Regions from separate parts of the Homo sapiens genome. Here regions 2, 3, 4, 5 and 6 are each linked to region 1. The links are contacts of gene promoters, found by promoter capture Hi-C in blood cells and fetal thymus (Javierre and others, 2016). All regions are on one chromosome and are shown on one strand. Each heading gives the region's core, a stretch centred on a gene start or on the middle of the fragment in contact. The rest is flanking DNA. Distances are from core to core; before and after follow the strand shown.

Region 1 (4,231 bases), core at 492-2,991:
GCTGTATCCAGATTTGAACTTACACAAGGTGATAAAAAGGGAACAGCTATAAGACATAAAACAGCAAACTGGAGAATCCAGGAGGAACAGAGAAAAATGCAAATGGTATCTGGAAGAAAATTAAATCCTAGAGATACTGTGGAAAAGAGAGGAAGAGTAAGAGGCAGGATTCCTTTGTATTTAAATATCCTGGGACACAGCTACTCCAGCAGACTCGGGGGAGAGGCGGAAAGGCAGGCGGCTGACATCTGGTTACAGGCTGCCTCATTTCCACATGGGTGGCAGTCGGTAAAGTGCTGTTCTAGCAGTCTTTCACGCTCTTCACAGGTATCAGGGAAAATAAGAATATTTTGTAAAGTTATATAAAACTACCATGAAGTAAGTTATAATGTACCCAAAACAGGCAACCAGGACTTCCAGAAAGGGACTGGCTTGTTGGAAGCCAAATGGAAGGCAGGGAAGAGGGGAGGTCTAAAAGCAGGTATTCTCCAAAAGCCACTTACAACCTCACAACATAACTAGATCAAAGAATTTCTGTCATGCCAGATAGTGGAAGGCTGCTATGTTGAGAAAGGCAATTGAGCAGTTTTGGCGGCGGAGTCAAACAGAAGGCTTAGAATCAACATCTGTTTTCTACAGTATGCTCGCTTTGATTTCCATCTCCAAGTTTCTGAAATTCCAGAAACAGTATATGGCCTTGTCAAAGAAATGACGAATTACTATGTTACTTTGTGTTAACGAAAAGGTTACATTTATGTTCATATGGAAGAGATAATTCACTGAAGAATTTCCAATTTTTCAAACTGACACGCACACACAAGACGGAAAGGAAGGCAGCCTGACCGCGTTTCCCAGGAAACAGGTGGTGCAAGGTGGAGGTGCACCACTCTCTCCTCCAGGAAGGCGGTGACCCTTCCGCAGATGTCTCCGTTGGAAACAAATAAAGGGAGTATCAGTCAAAGCGCAATTCCCCGATTCCACTTGAGAAGCCCCGGGCGTCGAGGCACGGCAGGAAATTTACCACGACGCCTCCCACTGGCTCAAGGGTCTCCCAGGTGCTGTCGATTTTGCAAAGGGTCCGTCTCTACAGCGACTGTGACGAGTTTCGGAGCATCAGCACCGGGGAGCGCTGACCCGACACTCGGCTCTACCGCAGCCCGCCGCGCCTCGGCACCCTGGGCTTGTCCGGCTGGGTGTTGCCGAGCGAACGCCCCAGCTCCTGCCCGGAACCCACGTCCGCCGGCTCCTACCGTGCCTCATGATCCTCGCTCGGGCTAGCACTTTCCACGCGCGCTGACTCTGGGCTCCGACACCTGGACCGCCTCCGCAAGGCGGCGCGGCTGCTGTTTGTAAACACGCCCCACGTGCGCTCGCCCTGCCCCATTCGCAGCCCGCTCCCGGCACGCGAGGATCCTCCGCTTTCCCCCCAGCACTGGGGGGGTGAGATTTTAAAATTTCCCCCTAGGGAGAAAAGAGCCTCGTCGGCAGAGCCGGGCCACTGGGAAAAGCGCCAGGACAAGGCGAGCGTGTGCCTCCCCCTGCCGGCCAGGGAGGCACTGCGGCCCCGAAACGGCCAGGCGGTGAGTGGAACCCACGCAGCGCCTAGAGACGCACCCCTGCCGGGCCCCCGCCCCTCCCGCCCGCTCGCCGGAGTCCCCTCCCCCGGGCCGCGTGCGCTCACCCGCGCAGGCCCCGCCCCCTCGCCGGCACAACGTTCTGCGGGGGCGCGCGCGTGCTCTCTAATCCCCCGCCTTCCGGCTCCGGCGGCGACGCTCGTCCCTCTCCGCTCGTCCCTCGCCGCTGCCGGGCCACCAGTGCCAGCCTGCCTCAGGAGACTCCATTTGCGCTTAGTGTGGTCTGGGCGCCGCGCAGGCGGTCCCAGGGCGATGCCCGGGGCCGGCGGACTGGCGTTCCCTGTGCCAAGCGGCCGCCCGCTGGCTGGCTGGCTGCAGCAGTGACATCCTGGTCGCCGGCGTCCAGGCGGAATCCGGGCTCCCTCCGCGGGAGGAAAGACGTCCCGCGCTCTGAAGCTCGCCCAGCGGGGAGAGGCCCTCGCTAACACGGCTTCTCCCTGACCTCTTAATTTCAGGAGGTAGGCTCTTCAGGTCCCTCTCTCTGTCACCCCAGATTATGCCTGAAAGCATTATTTGTCGTATTTAGCTATCACATTGATAGGAGGCGTTAATTTTCTCAACATAGTTGCAGGATAAATGTGGATAATGCCACAGATCCTGATGTTGAATTGAAAGAAAATGTTTTTGGTATTTTCCTTTAGGTTTCGGAGCCTCCGAGTATCTCTACAGCCCCCACAGGAACTGCTTCTGTTGGTCCATCGAGGATCGTCTTTCACCAGGATTATTGTAACATCATCTTCACCGAGCCTGCCACCCCATAGCCTCTACCTTGGGTCCTCATTTCCACCGATGCAGTTTTTTTGATGCTTTCTTTAGTAATGTGACATCACATGTCCACTATCCTCCTTTCCAGCTGCCAAATCTAGTAGGTTTAAGTCGCTTTTAAAGTAGAGTTTTCTGCCTGTTCCACTTTCACCTTATTTGCACTGTTCACTTCTGTCCGGGTCATCTTCTCTTGCGTATGATTTCCACAAGCACTCACTTGCGCAACCTATAGCAGAGTCCGTGCCTAGAGAGACAGCATTCCATACAATCCACTGCTTGACAAAGACCACATAGTCAGAGGGTGAGTTTTCCCATTGTATTTTCCTGTATGTCAAGTTTGCAAGTCCTCTCTTGACTTAAACTGTTTACTCCCTAGCACATTTCCTAAAATACTTCCACCTGAGATTTAGTGGCTATTCTGGCAAAGAACATTACCTGCAAGGATGGCAAGAATTGAGTATGCAATAGTACTGTTTTAGAAGCCTTACCAGTACAGTTTCTAGCCTCTAGTGTGATTGCACTTCATGAAAGACCCTGAACCCTGAGGAGGAAGAAAGATAGAAGATAAGAGTTAATTGGCGCTAGGCTTTGTTGTAGGAAGTTTGTAAGTTTTAAAATAGCAAGTAGATTCACGTAGACCTTGTCAGGAAATTGGTCACTATCCATCTAGGCCCTAGAAGTGAGAGGAGGAATCTTACGAACTCATTTTCTAGTTGCTTTGTATTCAAATCTTAGTTGTTAATTATCTTGTTCTAGTAATCACCTAAAATATTAGACACTTAAAATGTTGGGGAAACGTAAGCGTGTGGTGTTGACAATTAAGGACAAGCTTGACATTATTAAGAAACTTGAGGAAGGCATCTCTTTCAAAAAACTTTCCGTGGTGTACGGAATTGGTGAATCCACAGTTCGTGATATTAAAAAGAACAAAGAAAGGATTATAAACTATGCAAACAGTTCAGATCCTACCAGTGGAGTATCCAAACGTAAATCTATGAAGTCATCAACATACGAGGAGCTTGATAGAGTTATGATAGAGTGGTTTAACCAACAGAAAACAGATGGGATTCCAGTGTCCGGAACGATTTGTGCAAAACAAGCCAAGTTCTTTTTTGATGCTTTGGGAATGGAAGGTGATTTTAATGCATCGTCAGGCTGGCTAACTCGATTTAAGCAGCGCCATGGTATTCCAAAGGCTGCTGGTAAAGGAACAAAATTAAAAGGAGATGAAACTGCTGCCAGAGAATTTTGTGGTAGCTTTCAGGAATTTGTTGAAAAAGAGAATCTACAACCAGAGCAAATTTATGGTGCTGATCAAACTGGATTGTTTTGGAAATGTCTACCATCAAGGACATTAACTCTTGAAACTGACCAAAGTACTTCTGGGTGTAGGTCAAGCAGAGAGAGAATCATCATTATGTGTTGCGCAAATGCCACAGGTTTACACAAACTTAATCTTTGTGTTGTGGGGAAGGCCAAAAAGCCCCGAGCATTCAAAGGCACTGACCTTTCAAACCTTCCTGTGACATATTACAGTCAAAAAGGTGCATGGATAGAACAGTCTGTTTTCAGACAGTGGTTTGAAAAGTACTTTGTGCCACAGGTACAGAAGCATTTGAAATCCAAGGGACTTTTAGAAAAAGCAGTGCTTCTTTTAGATTTCCCCCCAGCACGTCCAAATGAAGAAATGTTGAGTTCAGATGATGGCAGAATAATTGTGAAGTATTTGCCACCAAATGTCACAAGTCTGATTCAACCAATGAGCCAGGGAGTTCTAGCCACTGTAAAAAGATACTATCGAGCAGGACTTCTCCAGAAATACATGGATGAAG
Region 2 (4,231 bases), core at 1-2,500, 830 kb before region 1:
GGAATGTGATAGTTTTACATACCATCAGCAGACAGGCGGGCATGACTCGAAAAGGCTTTATCTATTTCTAGAAAAGCCAAGGTCAACAGAGTTTCCAAGTTCTTCTCCTTAGGAAGCAAATCCCTTTGTGGGGAGGAAAAAAAGAGCCTTAAACAATCATTTTACAATAGGTTTTTCTCCTCACTGTTACTCTAGCTAGCAGTCATTCCACACAACGGGCCTCAGGATTTTCCTGTCAAATGCTGAAGACCTACTGGCTAAGGAATACCTATTGAGAATCCACAAAGTATCAGGCACTGTGATAAGCTTTTAAGGGCACAACAATGAAAGTCCAAGTCCTTGTCCTTGAAGAATTGATCCTCACTACCACAACCCTGAGAGGTCGAGAGTTCCTTCCCATTGTGAGTTCTTTCGTGGAATGCGGTATACACAGGAAGTCAAGAAATGGTCACTGGGAAGTCAAAAATAGTCACATGGTCGTAACTCCATCACATGTTCTCCCTCTTTCAATTTTAGCAGTAATGTGATCCTCAAAAATGCATTAATACTAGTTGAAGTAAATAAACGGAAGAGCTCCAAAATGCCTGCATTAAATGCATTTTTCCACACTAATGCCAATCATCCAAAGCTATTTTCAACAAGTCAGGTATTCAAAGCTATTCACACCACTTGAAAGAGTAATTACCATTTACTGAAGCACTTATCTGTCCTACACTGATGGGAGTAAATGCTTCTCATAGGTTATCTCATGTACATTATGCCACTTCACTTAAAATGATCACAAATTAAGTGCTATAGATTTTGGTTAATGCTTTCCCCAGGGGAGTTGTTAAAACATGCATTTCTGAAATTGTGATAACCATAAGTAATAAATGGCACACTTAAACTACTGCTCATTCGTGAAGCAGCAGCATGCAACCACTCAAGTAACTATGTTTACGCTGGAAGCCTCAGCCAAAGGGTGAAAGTTTAAGTAGGAAGTATAGGAACTGCAAAGTCAGGAGTGAAAGTCATTGTACATACATAATACATTTCTCCATGTGGGTATGACAGAAATCAGCTGCTGCAGGTCCACCGTGTCCATCATACACTGCAAAGTACAGGACCTCATCTGTCAGCTGAGCGAAGTCAAACCGATCTTCATTCTCTTTCCGTTTGCCAATCTGTGAGGCGCACCCCACATTTTCCAAGCTGATTTTGGGAATTGGCTTGCCATACTTAATGCTGGGTGGCAGCAGAATTGGCTCATCAATGCGGTTATCCCAGATCCCAAAATTGTCCCAGGTAGCTGGACTCCCACTACCATCTGGGTCAAACCGAGAACACCTAGGCTCTGAAGTGGAGCTGTGGCACGTGGGTGTCACCCGCCTGTCGTCCTGCAGCAGGCGGGAGCTTAGCAGCACTCTCCTTCTCACCTGGTTCCCACCACTTCTGACCAAAGTAATTAAGGCAGCTGTTGACATAACTCAGCTCCAAAGGACTCAGTGATGAGGGAAAGGTCAATGGAACAATAATGGAATGTCTTCAAGAAAAATGATGCAAGTCACAGGGGACAGAGGGAGAGAGGGGCAGAGGAGGAGAGGGAGAGAGACAGAGAGAGAGAGACCATCAGAAATTTTGAATATAACTGATATGTCATCAAATATTACCAAAAATGAAGCTCATAAAGGATTTGACAGAAAATACATATATTTATGTTATATATTGGGTAGGCATCCAGTAGCCTGCTTCTAAGAACAGTGGATCAAAAATGAATCGATTTTCCTACCGCATTCACAGCATTTAAATTCTATAAAAATTTAACAGTGTGCACATACACAGAACATGTATCTCTTAAACTTGAACCTGCAATCACTTGTTAAAATGCATGTTCTGACCCAGTGGCTATGGGGTGGAGTCACTCTGCATTTCTAACCAACACCCTGGTGATACAGAAGCTGCTGGTCCCCAAGTTACACTTCTAGTAGCAAGAACACAGAATACAGGTATAAATAAATATACTTCCCTTCATTAACTCTATTGCTTTAAAGAAAAGGTAGGGATAAATATTAACAATAGCAACAAAGTCTCTTCAGGAAAAAATAACAGGCTAATAGAATACTTAAAATAGTTCTGTTTCCAAAGAATGGCCAAGTTTTAACAAAAACATAATCTAGGATAAATCTAAGTTTTATTTTAACATTTCTTAACCTACTAAGCTTTACATACTATATTACTATGGTAAATATAAATTGGTGTGCAAACACCCCAGAGGCACAAAGATAAGCCAGTTTTGATGCTCCCCATCCTAGCAGACTCTCTCACTAGGAGGGTATGTGGGTATGATCTCAGGAACCTGGCAGCACTGCATTTGTGACAAGCAGCCCTGATTTCTGAACGAGTGATCTATATATTTACATTCACAGCTGCAGCTCTCCTTTCCCCAACCCTAACAACCCAACGACACTTGAGACTACACTTCTTTGAAACGATTACTTTACACCCCCATTTCTGGACTCCACCCTGAAACTCAATCCTAAAACCTCTCTTGGCATTACAGGGTGTTACCCAGGGGAACTCCTACCCCACTGCAGGTAGAGCTGTTTCTGGGAATTTTCCACACAAATAAAAAATTTGTCTCCATAGGATTTTGTTCTATTACTTTATTCTTTTAAAATCAACTTGAAAAGATGGCAGAATACTAAGGTTTGATGATGTTGGTGGATGGTCTACAGATAGTATATTATTCTCAATCTTATGTTTAAATTATTTCACAATAAAAAATGAACTTGAAAAAATGTATCTTTCCAAAAGGTATAAACATACACAAATGAAACCCAGCTTGAGTGCAGTTATGAGAAAATGCACTACAGATTTCAAACAATTACTTTCCAATGAATTTTTGGAAATCAGTCTAGCTATGTATAGGGAAGGCCATTACTTCTTTCGGTGGGTAAAACAGTCAAAAGAAAGAATGAGGTTCCAAAGAACATCCTTAGGTGTTTATTTGTTTTAATTTCTTGTAGATATGGGTTCTCACTTTGTTGCCCAGTCTGCTCTTGAACTCCTGGCTTCAAGTGATCCTCCCACCTCAGCCTCCCAAAGTATTGGAATTACAGGCATGCGCCACAGAGACTGGCCTCAATCTTTAGATATTTAAGCAATTAAAAAAAATATGAGCTCTGCTGTCACAGAATTTAGAATAAAGATGGCCACCAAAACAAGTAATGTATCATCAAAGACTTAGGAAGTCATCCCTTCTTGGCCTTTTGGCCAAGATCCTGCATAGAAGGCTGAAATTCATTTCTTCGTAAGACAACATTGTTGGGGGGTTGGAGAGTGGCAGAGACACAGCATCTCTGGTTATCAAAGAGAATTAACATGGCCGGACCCGGTGGCTCACACTTGTAATCCCAGCACTTTGAGAGGCCGAGGTAGGCAAATCACTTGAGGCCAAGAGTTGGAGACCAGTGGGCAACTTTGCAAAACCCTGTCTCCACTAAAAATACAAAAATTAGTCAGGCGTGGTTCCGCATGCCTGTAGTTCCAGCTACTAAGGGGGCTGAGGTGGGAGGACTGCTTGAGCCCAGGAGTTTGAGACTACCCTGGGCAACATGGTGAAACCCTGTCTCTACAAAAAGTACAAAAATGAGGTGGACAGATTGCTTGAGCCTGGGAGGCAGAGGCTGCAGTGAGCTAAGATCACACCACTGCACTCCAGCCTGAGCAATGGAGCAAGACATTGTCTATTTAAAAAAAGAGAGAGAGAGCGAGAGAGAGAAATAACACATTCCATTGCAAGAGATGTTTGTTCTTTTGCTTCTAATTGAGAGTTAGATTTTATTCAGCAACAATTATGGATTCAAGCCAGCAATGGTGTGTTAAAAAAAATTTAAAAACCCAATTATGTTAATTATAGGTGATGAATTGAGACTTCAAACTACAATACAATCTACCAGGTAATGGAAGTACTAATTATTTGGAGATAATTCCCAAAGCAGCTTTATATCATATAGAAAAAAAAAAGAACTTTAAAGAAATACAATTATTAGAAAATATTTGTATTTGAAGAGTTAACTTGAGATTAGCAAAATACTATTCTTTTGGCTTCGGTCTGAAAGTATATATGCCATATTCAGCCTTGAGCTACTTTGCAGTCATGCACCTACTTTAAATCAGAGTTCTGGAATTACAAATAAATAAATATTGAAGTTTTTCTGCAACTGTTCTAGTATATTCTTGCCGTTTTATC
Region 3 (4,231 bases), core at 1,280-3,779, 800 kb after region 1:
TACCCATTAAATAATAACTTCCCATTGCACCCTCCCTACCATCCCTAGCAATCACCATTCTATTTTCTGTCTCTATGAATTTAACCACTTAAGTACATCATATAAGTGAAACTGTACAATATTTGTCCTTTTGTGTCTTGTTTATTTCACTTAGCATAGTATTTTCAAGGTTCTTCCTTTTCAAAGGTTGAATAATACCCCATTTTGAGTGTGCGTGTGTGTCTGTGTGTGTTTGTGTGTGTGATTTTCTTTTTCCATTCATCTGTCAATGGACACTTGAGTTGCCTCTACCTTTCTGTTATTGTGATACATGATATTTTAATGACGTTCTCAAATTAGGGTAGTGTGCTAGGGAGAACATGTACTCTGACTAGTGTTGCTATCTAAAATCTGTTCTATTTTTATTGACTTAGGACACATAGTTTTCCTCAGGGACTTAATAATTGAACCGTTAAAACAAATGAGGGTTTAGCTGAATTTTTTCCCTGATTATTGACACCAATAAAAATAGGTTTGTTAAGATATAGTTACCTTTAAAATTCTATTTTCCTCTTTAAACAAATTATTTTTTACTAAGTGATATTTTTTAAAAAGAGAGGGGGGGAATTATCCACATATGTCAGACTTATAGAGTTGAGAATGAGATGAGCAGGTTGGATTTGCAAAAAGTAGTAAACACTTATAAAAAAATATAAGACTAACTTTTATATATTTAGGATATGTTTTCCCACTTATCACTGAATTGGGTGGGGATTTTATCACTATGGACTTCAGGAGTTTAGTGTAAAATGATGTACAACACTATTATTTCATAATTTTGCCATTAGTAATGGTCAAACAGTTAAGTTTTGTTTGGTTGTATTTTCATGCAATAATAATCTTATAATTAAGATGATAGTATTTTTCATGAGGTAAATTAGGAATAATATGAATAAATTATTCTCTTATGAGGGATCAATATTTTTCTCTCTAAATTAAGTCCCACCAGAGACTTAGTTCTTCCCCTGAAGCATTTATGAATTCATTAATGTATTCATATGTTGTCATTTGCAAACTGTAGTCATTTTTAAGTACAAGGTAAAGAAATGGACATTTGAGATCTTATACTTTCTCAAGTCAGAGACGCATGGGTGGGTATTAGGTGAGGTGTGAGGGGTTATTACTAGAGTCACCTGATAATCTTATTTCTTCAAGAGAATGTTAATTTTCAGAAGCAGCTATGTCTGTCTTGTCCTATTTTGTTTTCCTCTTGTTCCCTTTTAAATCTCTACGTTAAAGGGCATGATGGGAAACAAAGGTCATTCAATCCATAAAGTCTCCCCCAGAAACAAAATCTTCTCCCACTTCTCAAAGAAAATTATATACCATTGGCTTGGTTTATGGTGGCGATTTTATTGTCTTACCTTGACTTCTAATGAACATCCTCAGGACTTGGTATTTTCATACTATTGTGTCAATTAAAGCCACAGTTTATTAATATGAAAGTTTAAGTATTTAGCTTCTTTTGAATTAGATGACAAGCAATCTATTCATCTGGGTTCTAAGAACTAGTATAACTGAATAATGTTAGTTCTTAGATTATCCCTTTATTTCTTGGGAAAATATTCTGTGTGGTCATTATTTAAAGCCATCTTTTTTGCTTCAGTCCTCTCTCACTCAGTTCAGGATAAGAATTGGTATGACTGGGCCATTATTTAGTCAATTAATGGAAGTTTTTTACATTAGTCTTTTCACTAGTTTCCTGAAAGACTGAGTTTCTAAAATGTCAAAATAAAAAATATAGTAAACTGTTTATTTATGATGCCTTCTCTTAGTTCATTATCCACAAGTCTTTGAGTTTTATGAATCATAATAGAATCCTTTCCCCTCTCTATTTTATATGTTCAACAAGCTAGGCATTTGCTCATAACCAAAGATGTCTGCTTTTCCCTAGAACAAACCTTTTACCTATTAACTTGGAAAATCCAAAGAATCAATACAAGCTTTTTTTCAGTACATGTTGCTGCACAAAAGCAACAGAGTTATTACCCTGAAAGAGAATCCCAAATGTGGTCTGCTGGATGGAAGGTTATGACCCCATGGAAAACTAAACACTTCAAAGTAACTGCTCTCCATCCACCATAATCAGTCTAGAAAGGTACAAAGGATTACTAGGTTTAAGCAAAATGCTTGTCTGGGATCATTGCATTTGCCTTTAAACTGCCCATCACCATTTTGCCATGCTTCATTTTCTATTTTTAAACCTACATTTTCAGATAATTTGGCTTTAAAATTATATTTACATTTTTAATATCCCTTAATGAGCTTATTTCATTGGTAGCATAAACCTAATTATGAGTCACACCAGGGGCTCTTTTGCTGTGGATAGTTCTTCTAATTTACCCTGGATCAAAGATTGCTGGGCCATGAGCAGTCTGCTGATCTGCTTCTTTGTCTCCTCAACTATTTTAGTCATGAGATTGTTTTAATATTTAGGATTTCAAAAGGTCTCTGCCAGGTGACACTATCATTTTGCCTCACAGAGAATGAATATACTTTTTTTCTTTTCAAAGCCCTGAGCATGTAGTGACGGTGATACTTGTGTTGTTTCTGCCCCACACTCCCTCCTCCACAGTCATTCAGAGAATGTTCATGTGACAATTTAATTGTGCTTCTGTTGAAGTGAGTCAGTCTCAGTAATTAGGATCATCATTGCATTTGCATGAGGAATCTAGTTAATTTTTTAAAGATCCCTTTATTGTGGTCCTCTCAATTTTAAATCTTTTTATTTTTATTTCTTGCTTTTTCCAGTTCTTTGTTTTACATTATTTTTGCCTCAATTGTCACCAGTGATTTAACAACATGTGCCAGCATGTCTTCTTACTTCTTTAAGGGGCCTGAAATTTTAAACATCACATTCAAAAGAACACAATAAGTTCTGTAGAGCTCAATTTCTCTGCCTTAGATGAATGACAATGTGGAATGATTAAATCAAGCAATTAACATATCTTTTTTTCTTTTTATGTGTTGTTTTCTGGAATTTGTGTATGATGTACTTAAGTGAGGTTTTACTTTGTGTTTATCCTCTTGGAATTCATTAAGCTTCTTAGATATGAGGGTTGATTTTTTTAAAAAACAATTTTAGGAAATTTTCCCTTTTTTTCTTCTCATGTTTATTCTGCCCAATCTTAGGACCACTTCAGTTTTGCTCATTTATGTTTTTGAATTTTTTTCTCTGTACTTCAGTTTGGCTGGTTTCTATTCCTTATCTTCGAGTTTATTGGTCTTCCTTTCTAAAGTGTCCAAATTTCTGTTAAGAACATTCAGTCCATTTTTAATTCACATATTGTATACTTCTCGTTCTATTTAATGGTTAATTGTTTTAAAGTCATGGGTTGCTAATTCCAACTTCTATGTCATGCCTGTTTTTTTGTTTTTTTTTTTTCTATTTACTGGATTTTTACTCCATATACTGGTCCTGTTTTGCTGCTTTTTCTCATAGTTAGTTTTGTCTGCTTTTCATGCTGGGCATTGTGGATACTATGTTATTAGTGTCTGGATTTTGTTGTTTGCAAGCACAAAATAGTATTCAGTCCAAGATTCAAGGGCACCCCTATATTGACTTTTAAAATGATATTTCTGTCTGGCCCCCTCATTTTATTAATCTTTAACACATTTTTTAACCATCCTAGTATCCCCAAACTCAGATCTCTATTTTCTTTACTTGGTGTCTTTTCTGGAATCCATCCTTCTGTGATGCAGTTTGAAAATTGTTCCCAGGCACAAAACTAGATTGAATGTGGAGCTAACATCACATATTTTCCCTCAAGAATCATATCACTGCATTGTCTACTGCCCAACATCTGAAAACTGTTGCTTTATACATCTTGTCCAGATTTATAATTTTTGCCATAAAAGGTAAATCTGATAGTTTATATAGCCAGGGACAAAATTCTCTGAAATTTATGTTTTTAGTTTATTATATGAAAAATTATAGAATAAGCTCATTTAACTCCTTATATCAAGCTAAGATTTGTTGTGAAAATTCATAGAATTTGAAGATTAATTTGAGGAAAATTGACATATTTGCATTGGGTTTCCCATTAATTAACATGATTCATTGGCTTTTTCTTTAAAACTTTTCAATAAAGTTTAAAATTTTTACTTATTAAATCTAACACTTCTTTTGCTGAATTTATTCTTAGGTACATTATTCTTGTTGTTATTTTTTGCTACTGTTAATAGTGTCTTT
Region 4 (4,231 bases), core at 1,001-3,500, 730 kb after region 1:
TATTCTTTTAGTATGTGTGTCATTTGATGGATGAACTATACAAATGTTTCTGAGAGATTAGTAGCAGCCCTCAAGCACTTTTCTCTGTCCTCAGTGTTCACAGAGACCAAATGATCACATGAAGTAACTCTATCAAAGACTAATCTGTTCTTTCCATTTTAGGGCCACAAATAGGTCTCTTTATACACATCACAGGGGCATATCAAAGTCATATTTTAAAAATCAGAATGGATTAAAATTGACAAACATTTTTCATGATGGTAAAAGAAATCACAGATCCATCAATGATTTTGATTCTTAAGAATATTCTTGATTATTTTTTAAAAGACTATGAGTTTTTAAAACTGTTCTCTGAAATAGAATTATGTAGGTACAGAAACATTCATTTTTAAAAAGTCATAAATATTAGGGCAAAATTAAAAATCTGGAAAAGCAAACAGTCGCATTTTTTACTATTAGCTCAAATACACACGTTCACATTCACCTACCTACACATACCTCTGACTCAGTCCACCTTTTTGACAAGCAATGATGCAAAAATGAATCAAGAGAGAGAACTACCAGCATTTAGAGTATTGATTATCCTAACCCATCACTCATGAACAAGCACCAAACTGACATTTGGGGTTTACCTACCTACATAGAGAACACCCTCTTTTGTCTTTCCTGCTGCTTCTGCCACACCCTGTTTGGTTTTCTCAGCAGCAGCCACAACTCCCTCCTTGGCCTTTGAAAGTCCTTTCATGAATACATCCATGGCTAATGAATTCCTTTACACCACACTGGAAAACATAAAATACACTTTGAATGAGAACTTTCGGGGAAAAATAAACAAAAAACACTGAAAAATCATGAGAAACCCTCCAAAGTGTGAGACTCTTTTAAGTGTACACTCATTTAACCATTGGACAAAGCAGACATTTTTAGCTCTGGCATTAAAAATTTAGCATCTCCCATCCATCTTGGCTAGTAAAAGTCTAGCCACCTAACCACGGATTAGGATGAATCCTCTGAGTTGTTATTACTGCATTTCAGAAGTGGAGTTGCATGAAAAGATTAACCCCTTTTTTAAATTCCCGGGGTCTAAAGGGTAACAGTATGAGTTAGAAGCATGGAAGCTGGAGGCTTAGGGTCAGGGGTATCCTTAACATGAATCCCAGAAGAAGGCTAACAGGTTGATGGTGGAAAGGCGTAGGCAACAGAACTAACTGCTCACTCGGGGTGTGGTTCAAACTCAGGCAAACAGCAGGCCCAAGTGTGATGGTTCTAATCCATCCAACATCCACCCCCGCCCTCAGCTATCTACCCTGAGCAGGCGCCGCTCACACTCGCGGGCCGTCTCCAACCCCGCGCCAGCCACCCGAGGGGGCGTTCTCAGCCTCCACCCTAGCGGACCCCGCGCCAGCACTTGTTAACCCGTTACCACCTGTTGACTTGGCCTCCTTGCACTTCCATTTCATTATTTGCCAAACGCAGCTTGCTTACTTTACAGAGAAAAACCAAGAGAGCGGGCAGACAGATTTTATGTGAGAGAAAAGTTGGATGCTCACGCTCCATGGAGCATCCTCGCGTTTCCCGGGGAAAAGCGGATCCCGGAGAAGCAGCCTAATCTCTCAGCCCTTGTGGAGAAGGGAATATCAGAAGCAGGACGAAAGCCAGGTCAAGTCTCTTTCCTTAGGCTCCCCAAAGGGACAAGTACTCACCTCCCAGAGACCTGGCCCAGCGGGTCCTCATGGCAGCACCACCCCCTCCCGGTGCCCACGACCATTCGTCTCCCATCCGGCGTTCTCCAGGATTTCCAAAGACGCCCGTTTAGATCCACAGGTACTTACCTGAGTCCCTCTGCTTCTCCACAACTCCGACTCCTCCCCGCCTCTCTCTTTTTTTAAAAAAAAAATTTAAACAATTCCCAAATAATATTTAATAGGAAAGAAGAAGGAAAAGGAGCGCACAGGAAGGGCGGAGGCGGCACCCGGGGGGGACTGTCCCCAGAGGAGGCCGCTGTGAGCCGGCGACGCGAGGCTGGGGGAGTGGGAGGCAAACCCGCTAACCTGTCGTCGAATGGCCACTCCCAGTTCTCCGCTCACGAGGGTGGAAAGGCAGAAGGCTTGAAGGCAAGGCGTGAGGGAGCGCCCAGGACGCTCTCGGAGGGGCCGGGCCGGGGTCTGCGCTGCAGCCCGCACGCACCTCACTTCCGCGTCGCGGCGCTCGGTCGCTCGCCCCCTCTCTTGGGCCCCTTCTGGTCGTCGCCGTCCTCCTCCTCCTAGTCCTCCTCCTTCTCCTTCTCCTCGGCTCTCCGCCCCCACCGCTGATTTGTCAGCGCTTCTGCCCGCCCCTCTCCCGGCGCTCGCTGCTTTCCCTGCAGCGTGCTCCTCGTCCCTATCTCGGATGGGGATGGGGCAGGGGGCGCGGGGTGAGCCATCAACTCCAGCCGCCTGCCTGGCCGCGCAAGGCGGGAAAGTGGGGGCGCTTTTGCGCCTCACGTTAAGTTTAGGGTCACGAGCACTCTTGTGGAGATCGGGAGCGGTTGGGCTAGGGATGATGCCTCTTCCTCTTTCCCCTTCCCCTCCCTTCTTGTCCCCGCCTTTCCTCTGGGTCCTCCCGGGGACCACCCCCTACCCCTCGTCAGAGTCGCCCTGGGAGAGCCGAGGGCCTGAGGGTCGACCACCAAGGGCAGAGCCTATCCCTTGGGGAGCTGCTGGAGGAGACAGGCAGCGCCGGGAGGTGGCTCACACCGCACCGCCGAGAGCGCTTTGCCCTCGCATCGCTGAAATTTAATCACGGTCACAGGTTACAACGTTAGGGGTCGCTTTAGTTCAAATATCTTCAAGGTTTTCGTTTGCTCTTAATCTAGGAAGAGCCGGAAAGGGTCCTGAGGGTGAAAGGGAGACTACTAAGGAAGAGTCACAGGTTGAGGAGGCAGGAGAAGGCTCAGCAAATCCTCTTTCCACGCCACTATCACCATTTTCCTTTCCACCAATCAGCGCCTGCCAGACGCTGATTTTCCCATCAGTGGAACAAGGAATAAATATTCCCCAGCCGTCTAAAACAAGCGGTCCTAAGGCTTTTCGCTCTAGAAATGGGACTTACTTTGCAGACCTCCCTTTATCTGGGAGACAAATCCAGCGTGATTTAGCCTACCGGACCATCATATCCAATTTCTTCTTCAGCCCCTTCTGAAAGGGAGATGCTACACACCACTCACCTTTCTGACTTCTGATTCTCGTTGCCCTCAGAATTGACACCCCCTTTTCTCTCCCCCCACCCACCACACGCACATGCACACAGACATACACACGCGAACTTCAAGACAATTTTTGCATCGCTTAACACATTTTCACCTCTTTCAGAGCTGGAAGACAGCTGTTCCTGGATCACACCAGAATGGAGAAGCAAGCTCCTCCCACTAGCAGAAAGCCTTTGCTTTCTGTGCCTGGATTCGGAAGATTAGTTAAGCACTGGAAGAGGAGGGGGGAAACAACAACTCGTTTTTGCTGTATGTTTTTTTTTTAATTGTTTTTATATTTATAGAAAGTTATGCTTTGTCTGATTCTTGCGCTAATTTGGGTTCTGAAATTTGAGTAAAATCAAATTTAAACATACAAAACAACTTTAAAACCACAAGGAACAGGAAGCAAATGATTATACATAAAAGACATATAGAAGATAATGCATATGTGTTCAGTGGAAAATAGAAAAGCATGAAAGTAAGATCACAAATATTTATTATTTAAACTCTTCCTTGAACTATTGGTCTGCCCTTTGGAAAAGCAGACTTTCCTTAATGCAGTAGCTCATATTAATATTTTTTGTTTGCTTAGGACCAGAGCAAGAAGGTTGGACTTGGGAGCTAGTTTGCTGTCTGGCTTTGAGACCTTGAACAAGTTTTGTTCTCCTTCTGTTTCCAGTTTTCTTTTTTGTAAATTAGGAGATTAACTCATGTGATCACTCTATTTTCAACTTTTTGTTATGGGAAATATTCAAACATATGCAAAAGTAGACAGAATAAAGGACTCTCATGTGAAGATCATCCAACTTTTACATTTTTTCAATGCATGGCTGATCATGTCTCATCCATAAGTCCACTCACTTTATCACTACCAATCCTCCCTCTTTTTTTTTTTTTTTTACCAAATTCAAGCTTTATATATATCTTTTCAGCTGTAAACATTCAGTATGCATCCACAAAATTTAAGGACTGTTTAAAAATAACCACAATATCATTAGATGA
Region 5 (4,231 bases), core at 595-3,094, 650 kb before region 1:
TCATGACCAGGAACAATTAGGCATGTGAATACATTGCAAGGTGAAGAGTGGCATTTATTAAAAGCTCTTAGCAAAAAAACAAGGAGGGTCCTGCCAACAGGCTCCCAGCTCACAGACTGAATAACAGGCCAACACACACAAGCTGAAGACTTCTTGCTCATCCCTGCTGCATAAGGCTGAATTCCCTCTGGCTGCACCCCACTCTCCTGGTGCAGTGGGCCCCCAAGTCCCTTGTGGGCATGCCCAGACAAGACCCTGGGCAGGCTTCCTCAGCTGCACAAAAGCTTGTGAGGCAGGTCAGAGATTCTCCAGGGACCCTCCCTTATCTGCCTCCAGCATCTATCGATACTATAAAGAATAATTCATTTTAAATATAATGAAGACCAACAATTATAAAACTTCCAGAAGGTAACAAATGAGGAAATCTTATAATCTTGAATTTAGCAAAAATGTCTTAAGTAGGACAAAAAAGGTATGAACTATGTAAAAGAAAAAAATGGATAAATTACATCAAAATTGAAAACTTCAGTGCTTCAAAAGACACTTAAAATGAAGAGGCAAGCCACAGACAGGTAGAAAACATTTCAAAACGTATAGCTAATAAAGAACATGGTATGAAACATATAAAGAACTCAATAATATATAAAGAACTCTTAGATAAAAAGTCAAGCTAGCTAATAAATAAATGGTCAAAAGATTTGAATACACACTTCACAAAGAAGAGATCCTCCTGCCTTGGGCTAAAAAAGGGCTGGGGTTACAGGCAGGAGCCCAGGCCCAGCCTTGTCAGTTGATTTTCGGTGACCCTTCAGAGGGCAAAGGGGAAGTTTTCTCCTGTTCCCTACAACCGACAGGCCCATCAATTGGTGAATGGATAAATAAACTGTGGCTTACCCATATGATAGACTACCATTCAACAATAACACAAATGAATTACTAATTAAACACAATAGTATGAATCTCAAAGCATTGTGCTAAGTTAAAAAAGCCAGACATCACTTAGATATGGTTCCGTTTGTATGCATTCTAAAAAAGGCCTAAAGCACATCACTGTTGCCAGGCACCCGGGAATACGGGAATACGTAGCGGAGCGGGCACGAGGGGGGTGGGGGTGGGGGTAGGGGTGGGGGGGAGGGTAGCTGCCTGCATAGCTCTGCCCAGTTTTATGCCGGTTTCAGCCCGGCGCACAACGCATTTTTTTTTTTGATACATAGTCTCGCTCTGTCGCCCAGGCTGGAGTGCAGTGGCGCAATCTCGGCTCACTGCAAACTCCGCCTCCCGGGTTCCCGCCATTCTCCCACCTCAGCCTCCCGAGTAGCTGGGACTACAGGCGCCCGCCACCACGCCCAGCTAATTTTGTTTTTGTATTTTTAGTAGAGACGGGGTTTCACCGTGTTAGCCAGAATGGTCTCGATCTCCTGACGTCGTGATCCGCCCGCCTCGGCCCCCCAAAGTGCTGGGATTACAGGCGTGAATCACCGCGCCCGGCCGCGGCGCACAACGCTTAACAAACTTTGGCTTCCGTTATCCCTCCCTCTGGAAATGCGTGTGTCAGGGTGCCTCCTAGTGGAACTGCAGCGTTTCCTCGAAAGCCATTCCGTCCAGGAGTTAAGGTGGCCGCTGCCCGCCCGGGGACACTTTCTCAGTCCAGCCCATCGGCCTTTACCCCAGCCAACGACCTGTTGCCTTTGGCCGCCTGCCAAGTCACTCTCATTACAGTTTCCTTTTCCTTTTCGATTCCGCCCCCTAAAAACAACAACAAACATTATGTTTCGTTTTCCACTGGAGCTGCAGGCCCCGCCCCCAAACAGCACGTGGGGGGCGTGGCGTCCCGGCAGGGGCTCAGTAGCTGAGGCTGCGGTTCCCCGACGCCACGCAGCTGCGCGCAGCTGGTTCCCGCTCTGCAGCGCAACGCCTGAGGCAGTGGGCGCGCTCAGTCCCGGGACCAGGCGTTCTCTCCTCTCGCCTCTGGGCCTGGGACCCCGCAAAGCGGCGATGGAGCGGAGGTCGCGGAGGAAGTCGCGGCGCAACGGGCGCTCGACCGCGGGCAAGGCCGCCGCGACCCAGCCCGCGAAGTCTCCGGGCGCACAGCTCTGGCTCTTTCCCAGCGCCGCGGGCCTCCACCGCGCGCTGCTCCGGAGGGTGGAGGTGACGCGCCAACTCTGCTGCTCGCCGGGGCGCCTCGCGGTCTTGGAACGCGGCGGGGCGGGCGTCCAGGTTCACCAGCTGCTCGCCGGGAGCGGCGGCGCCCGGACGCCGAGTGAGTGGGGCTGGTGTGTGAGGGCTGTGAGGGCTGTGAGGGGTGAGGGCTGAGGGCTGTGAGGGGCGGGCAGCCGGGGGTCCGCGCCTGAGGGAGGAGAGCCCAGAAGGCCGCAGACGCGCGCCTGGCTCGGATAGTTTCGCCGACGGCGCACCTGAGCTGTCTTTTATCCCGGTCAGTGTCAGGCGCGGGGTGAGCGGGATACTGGCGACCAGCGGATCCTCCGCTCAGCAAAGTGGCCGGTGCGGGGCATGCGGGCACCGTCTTCATCCTTTTAGCCAGTCTGGCTTTCTCATAGGTTTCTGTTCAAGTTTGTACCCCCGTCCCCCGCCCGCCGCATCTCCCACTGTCTCGTTTTGAGAAAGTAGTCACTGCTCCAACTTTGGGAGTCGTTCTCAGTGATGGGATTTTACCTTGGCCTTCAGTTGCACTTCTCCCACATTCTCATCGAAGTGGGGGAAATAGTTGCCCGCGTTCTTTAAAATTTTGCCCATCTGTGGAGTGAAGAAATTGGTATCTTGCTGCGAGTTTATTTTGCGTTTAACTACTGGACGTTTGCGTTCCTTTTTCGGTAAATTGCCTGTTTATCTTTGCCTGGCTTTTAGAAATTTGAGTTGTTAAATCTTTTTCTTATTTGTATGGAAGAGGTATTTGAATATTGAATAAGAATAGCCTTTTGCACGTCGTACATGTAATATTTTTCTCACTTTGCCTTTTGTGCATGTTGTTTTTAGTGCATTTTTTGGGGGGTAGTCTGTCAATTTTTTTGTCTGTTAAGGCTTATGGGTTTTATGTTAGGCTGGAAAGCTATCCACACTCCCAGTGTTTTAAAAAATGTACTCATTTTTGTAGTAATTTTAAGGTTTTTTTTTTTAAGTTAAAATTTTTCGTACGCTTGGAATTTTCAGTACTGAGGTAGGAGGGGAGCTAGATTTATTTGCTTTTCCAAAGGCTTAGCCTATGTCCCAATACCATTTCTTAATACTTCCTTTTTTTCAACTGATTTGAAATGCTGAGACTCTTTAAAAGAAACCGTTAGTCTGCTGGACCATTTCTTATTACCAAACTGTTTTGGTTCCCCTAGCATTTGTAATATGGTTTGTGCTTTGAGATTTTTACACGAATAGATTCTATTTCATTAGCACTGAAGATGAAACAAGGTCCCAAAACTATCCTAGTTTAATTTTTGTGAACAAATTAAATAAGAGTACATTTTTACTAGTGGACAGTTTAATCTCTTAACTTCAGAAAGGGCCAAATGTGCACTAATGCCAATGAAAAATGTTTTCAACAGCATCCTCTTTAAAGATAGTCCCCCAAACATAATCCTTCCTTTTAAGAATATAGGCATTGGTTTCTATTGGTAACTGTCGGGAAGTGTTTATTACTGTTATTTGCTTTTTGGGAGAAAGGAATGTGTTTCAGAATACACTATTTGTTCTTGAAATGAGATTATGTTGTCTTAAAGTTATATTTTCTTATAGACCTTTTCATCTTTGTCATTTCAAATTTCGTTCGTCTTAATAAACAAGAACCTAAAAGCAGATATTTAATTGGATATTTTAAGGGTATGTTCCATTTACAACAAAGTATACATCAATATTTTTTCTAATTAAAAAAAATCTATGTCAAGACCGTTGTCTTTCCTGATTTGCTTTGCCTACCTGAATTTTCTTAAGAGAAGTTCATGGTAAGTCAAAGCTTGTCTAGTTGAAATTTTTCCCAGATGTTTTAAGTGTATTATAATGAAGTTAGTAATACAGTGGGTAATAATCAAAGTGACAATAGTTCCTGGTTGGATTTGCTCTGTAGAATGCATTAAATTAGGAAAAAACATGAAGATACATTCCGTGGACCAAGGAGCAGAGCACATGCTGATTCTCTCATCAGATGGAAAACCATTTGAGTATGACAACTATAGCATGAAACATCTAAGGTAGGGAACTTTTTTCTTTTATTAAAAATTAATTT
Region 6 (4,231 bases), core at 618-3,117, 510 kb before region 1:
AGTGGACAGTGCAAATATATAGCATTTCCATTATCACAGAAAGTTCCAAGTTTCCAGATTTTACTCATCTTTGTATCTCCATTTATTAGTATAGTACAGGAGCACCATAGATGCTTAATAAGTTGGATAATGCTGGTCATATGCCCAGCAGTGAAATTACTGTGTGGGGAGGTATCCACATCTTCATCTTCACTGGAGAATGCCAACTTGTTTTGCCAAGTGCTTATGCCAGTTTATATTCCCACCAGCTGTCTATGAGGGCCCTGGCTGTTGTATATCCTTGACTTGGTATTGTTAGACTTTTCAATTCTTGCCAGTCTCGTTGGTGTCTTTTGAAGGCAGTCCACAGCTTAAGCAGACTGCAGAGAAGTCATTCTTCCAGCTTCACAAAGCCTAGCACCAGGTAGTGAAGAAGGCACCACCTTAGAGGGGATGATCCGGGGAAGGGTAGGAGTGTTTCCTGTGTTGGCTGAGGGGGTCAGAGGACCAAAGTCCAGCTAAAGTGGAGGAGAGAGAAAACAGCAAGGAGTGGATTCACGTTGTTGAAAACTTCTCTTTGCCTTCTATGACATTTCTGTCTTTGGTAGGAACATTTTTGATAATAAGGCAAGTCATTAAAATGAATCTTCTTTGTTACCAGAGTTAATTCTGCATTTTAGTTTTGGCCCTACATTTATTTAAAGCCTGAATTTGGGGAGTATCTGCAAAGCACTGAAGGTTTTGGACATTGTCTTTTCCTGCTGTTGAAAGAGACCCTCTTCATATATACAACATTCAGGTAATTGCTTCTAAGCTTACTTGAAAGGAAGCTTATCCCTATTTTAAATGAGATTAGAAGTCCTGCCTGAGTGTTATTTTGGTCTCAGTGCCTTTCAAACAAAGGGATAAGAATGAGTTGTTAGGCTGCTGTGTGCATAGTCGCATAGTCTTATCATAAGACAAAGTTTAGGAACTGAAGGTTGTCGTTTAGCATTCAACTCACTAGAGCTAGTAAAAAGAGATTTATCTCCCCACCGCCCTCCACCCATGCCCTCTCCAGAATTTAAAAGCAAATGCACACAAAAAAACTTCCTCCTATCAACCTCAAATCCCTTTCATGAAAGTTATGGCAGATGGTTGTGATGCTACTTTGCTGTAGTGCAGATTTGGCAGAATGCAGCTAGTGCTAATTGCAGTGAGGAAGACAGGAGTCACAATCCCATCCTCTTTTGGGAATTGTCCTGTCTGCTGAAATCTCAAAGAAGAGCACTAGGAGTAGGAGTAACATTGACTAAAGCAGCTGACATTTACTGGTCACTTACTACTACATGCCAGGCACCATGCTAAGCCCTTTTTACATGCATTTTCTCATTAATCCTCACAACACTCTAGCACCTTCTCCTGATTTTGGAGCTTAAGGTGGGTAAACATCTTTCCTCAGGTTTCACAGCTAACGTGGTTAATGTAGGGCTTGGATTTTAGTTCCTTTGACCCTTAAGCTCTGCTAAGATTATCTTGAATCTCTTACCAAGAATAGATGAGAAGGACTCAGGAAAGTGCCAGGTTGACATTGAGAGAAAGTTGTACTTCAAAAGTAGTCCTTCCTTTTGTTTTGTCATGGGGAAATAAGAGGCAGGAAATGCAGCCAAGCGGGGCTGGTGTAGGTGCTGAGGGAAGTGTAGTCCTATATTTTGCAGCGAATTTCATAATTGTGTATTTTGAAGGAAAATAAAAGATTCTGCTCTTCTAGGAGCAAGCAAGAGAGTGAATGAGGAAAAATGGGTGTAAGGACCTTGGAGATCAAAATGCCCAGCGATGCAGACCGTTGCTGAAACTAGACCTTTAAAGTCATGGACATCAGCAGCTACAAGATTTAGGGGTCCAACTGGAGTGTACTTTGAAGTGAAAGCTGTGCTAATGGCTGGCTTCTCTCCAATGTGTTGAACTTCTCTCCTGAAAGCTAGATGATTTTAGTTGCTTTTTTCTTTAGTTCCGGCAGAGCATTGTGATGACCTAGGCCGTATTTATAGTTAGGATTGATAGTTTATTTACAGATACACATCTTTTTTGTGGTTGCTATTTAATTCTCTTGGTGGGCAGTTTTTATTTGACCAATTGAAGATTCCATTACTGTAACTCAGTTGGAAGAATTTTTGAAGTTTTCTTGAACAATAGTCCTTTTTATTATCTTTTTTCATAAATTGTTTTTACTAGTCAGTCAGGGATGAGGCCATACTTCAGGCTGTTTACACAGGATTGTGCTTGGCCAAAGCACCCAGAACTCAGATGACTCTCAAGGACTGACTCGTGCCAGATAAACTACAAAAAAAGCTGATAGACCCAGGACGCCAAATTAATAATGAGAATTAGAAATCCTAATAAGACTGAGATGCTTTGGTTACCTGGTCACAGTATTCTATCCCTGTAGTAGAATCTGCCCTAGAAACCAAGTTATTTAAGGTTGCTTGCTAAGCAAGGCAATTGGTTGGGTGAATTTAGTGACAACTGTTATGGAATCTGATCCACCCATCCACTTTTAGGAAAGAATTACTTAGCGGGTCAGATAGCCAGGTTGACTGATCAGGGTCCCTGTTTTCTCTGGAGAGTGGTGCAGACACATTGGGAAGTCTGGCCTTTTGGTTATCTACTTTCTAAGCTCCTTACTATACAGCACAGCATAGTGTCTCTTTCTTTTCCTTTACTTCATCTTTTTTTTGTTAGTTTCACTTTCTTCATCTGTAAATTAGAGATAATGGCAGTACCTGTCTCATAGAAGATGAAATGAGCCAACATCTGTGAAGCACATAGAAAAGTACCAGACTCAGAGTAAGCTCAAATCAGGTCTTATCTGCTGTTATTATTAATAATGTCATTATTAATATTATCAGTCAGGAGTTTCTTTTTATTGCAAGTGAAAGAAACCTGATTCAAACAAGCATAAATAAATAAGCTTAAGTAAACAAAGAAGGGACTTGTTATACTCTGTATATAGTTAGGTTCTGTAAAGTCATGGTGAATACCATATTAGTGAATACAGAGCCATTGTTTCTGAGGAAATACAGGATTAGGTTCTTGTAGGCTGTGGTCAAGAGATTTTTATCAGCCAGCTGACGCATAACCTTTTTTTATGTGTGTTTCTGTCTAGACAGCCTATTTAATATATATTTCTTACTAATATACACAATATTTCTTGGTAATAAAACACTAGTTGAGAAGGGTTTAACATTTTCTTGACCCTGTGTAATGTGACAGTGTTTTTGGCTTTCAGCCTCACATCAGTGCTATCCACTGTGATTTTTATTTTTTATGGGTTGTCATCTCATGAATCCACAGATTTAATTGCTTTTCCATTGTATCTATAGCTTCATTATGTACTCTGGATATTACTTTAGCTCTCTCCAGGGGAGGCCTCACATACAGATCAGCAGATTTCCTGTTCCATATTTTGGATGTACCCGCTTGTTGATTCATTAACATTGAACTCACAGCCAACACTATAACTCATGCATGAAAGAAACTTACCTAATACACATTTTTTTCTCTGTAAGGCACATCACAACCTTCTTGCACCTAAGAACACTAGAAGGTAGGAGAGATAAGACAAATTTATGAAATACTAAAAACGAAAAAATCCATTAATGTGGATAATAGCAATTGAGCAAGTTGGGAAAAATAAATTATTTCTAGATTATGTGAGCTTGCTGGTCTATTAGTGTATCATTAGACCACCAACCACCACCACCACTACCCTGCCAGTTTTTCATTTTATTTCTACTTCCCTCTCCACAATATTTGTAGTTAATTCAAAGAATAACATTTAATCTTAATACTTTTTTAGTGTAGAGTCTAGACAAGGAATAAAAATCTTGGGAAGAAGCAGAACTTTCTGTGTAAGACAGCAAATTGAGATTCAGTTTTATATTTTATTTTGGGCCTTTTCATGCCTTTCCTGAAAGCCTCAAGAGTTCAAAGCATACCTCAGGATTACAATAAGGCAGTTTTAAAATTGGTATATACCAATTAAGGCCATTGAGTTAAATCCAAAGTACTGTAATTGTTGTCAAGAGAGGTTGAAAGTACGAGCTTCCTCTGTGTTGTAATCTTTAATTTGTAGCCATTTGGGCATGCTTTTATCTTGGGAGAAAAGAGTTTGTCATTTTAAAAGCTGACTTTGCATAGAAGAGCCAATTAGCTGTCTCCTTCATATGTTGACAGTTCTCTCCTGTAGATTGGCTGATATATTCAGCTTTGA

What was found. The method cuts DNA at HindIII sites, captures the fragments that hold promoters and counts their contacts. A CHiCAGO score of 5 or more calls a contact.
Region 2: a fragment that was not itself captured here is called in contact with the fragment with the promoter of TIGD2 in region 1 in 1 of 17 cell types (total CD8 T cells); the score reaches 5.2 in total CD8 T cells.
Region 3: a fragment that was not itself captured here is called in contact with the fragment with the promoter of TIGD2 in region 1 in 1 of 17 cell types (total CD4 T cells); the score reaches 5.2 in total CD4 T cells.
Region 4: a contact is called between the fragment with the promoter of SNCA here and the fragment with the promoter of TIGD2 in region 1, in 14 of 17 cell types (total CD4 T cells, fetal thymus, monocytes and 11 more). The highest score is 21.2, in total CD4 T cells.
Region 5: a contact is called between the fragment with the promoter of HERC5 here and the fragment with the promoter of TIGD2 in region 1, in 7 of 17 cell types (naive CD8 T cells, total B cells, total CD8 T cells and 4 more). The highest score is 7.2, in naive CD8 T cells.
Region 6: a contact is called between a fragment that was not itself captured here and the fragment with the promoter of TIGD2 in region 1, in 1 of 17 cell types (fetal thymus). The highest score is 7.5, in fetal thymus.

Annotation. Positions count from the first base shown.
Region 1 is chr4:89,109,792-89,114,022 of GRCh38, forward strand. It overlaps TIGD2 (tigger transposable element derived 2), which reads left to right and starts at 1,742. Exons shown (of 2, transcript NM_145715.3): 1 at 1,742-2,092; 2 at 2,276-4,231. The coding sequence starts at 3,184. RefSeq lists enhancers at 1,250-1,359, 1,390-1,469 and a silencer at 1,550-1,999. The HindIII fragment of the contact is 10,355 bases long and covers 1-3,226 here.
Region 2 is chr4:88,277,121-88,281,351 of GRCh38, forward strand. PPM1K (protein phosphatase, Mg2+/Mn2+ dependent 1K) reads right to left here. Exons shown (of 7, transcript NM_152542.5): 2 at 1,024-1,522; 3 at 23-123. The coding sequence starts at 1,463. Among named protein-coding and RNA genes, the nearest start is that of PPM1K, 5.3 kb to the right of the region's middle. The HindIII fragment of the contact is 1,892 bases long and covers 305-2,196 here.
Region 3 is chr4:89,904,418-89,908,648 of GRCh38, forward strand. All of the region lies in intron 1 of MMRN1 (multimerin 1), which reads left to right. Among named protein-coding and RNA genes, the nearest start is that of MMRN1, 12 kb to the left of the region's middle. The HindIII fragment of the contact is 1,099 bases long and covers 1,981-3,079 here.
Region 4 is chr4:89,834,911-89,839,141 of GRCh38, forward strand. SNCA (synuclein alpha) reads right to left here and starts at 2,251. Exons shown (of 6, transcript NM_000345.4): 1 at 2,052-2,251; 2 at 637-782. The coding sequence starts at 757. It overlaps SNCA-AS1 (SNCA antisense RNA 1), which reads left to right and starts at 1,491. Exons shown (of 4, transcript NR_045481.1): 1 at 1,491-1,824; 2 at 3,351-3,496. The HindIII fragment of the contact is 7,659 bases long and covers 1-4,139 here.
Region 5 is chr4:88,455,275-88,459,505 of GRCh38, forward strand. It overlaps HERC5 (HECT and RLD domain containing E3 ubiquitin protein ligase 5), which reads left to right and starts at 1,845. Exons shown (of 23, transcript NM_016323.4): 1 at 1,845-2,260; 2 at 4,073-4,196. The coding sequence starts at 1,996. All of the region lies in intron 1 of LOC102723458 (a long non-coding RNA gene), which reads right to left. RefSeq lists an enhancer at 1,475-1,904. The HindIII fragment of the contact is 3,677 bases long and covers 283-3,959 here.
Region 6 is chr4:88,597,310-88,601,540 of GRCh38, forward strand. The region is part of intron 2 of HERC3 (HECT and RLD domain containing E3 ubiquitin protein ligase 3); the gene reads left to right. Among named protein-coding and RNA genes, the nearest start is that of HERC3, 6.9 kb to the left of the region's middle. RefSeq lists an enhancer at 3,802-4,231. The HindIII fragment of the contact is 2,120 bases long and covers 808-2,927 here.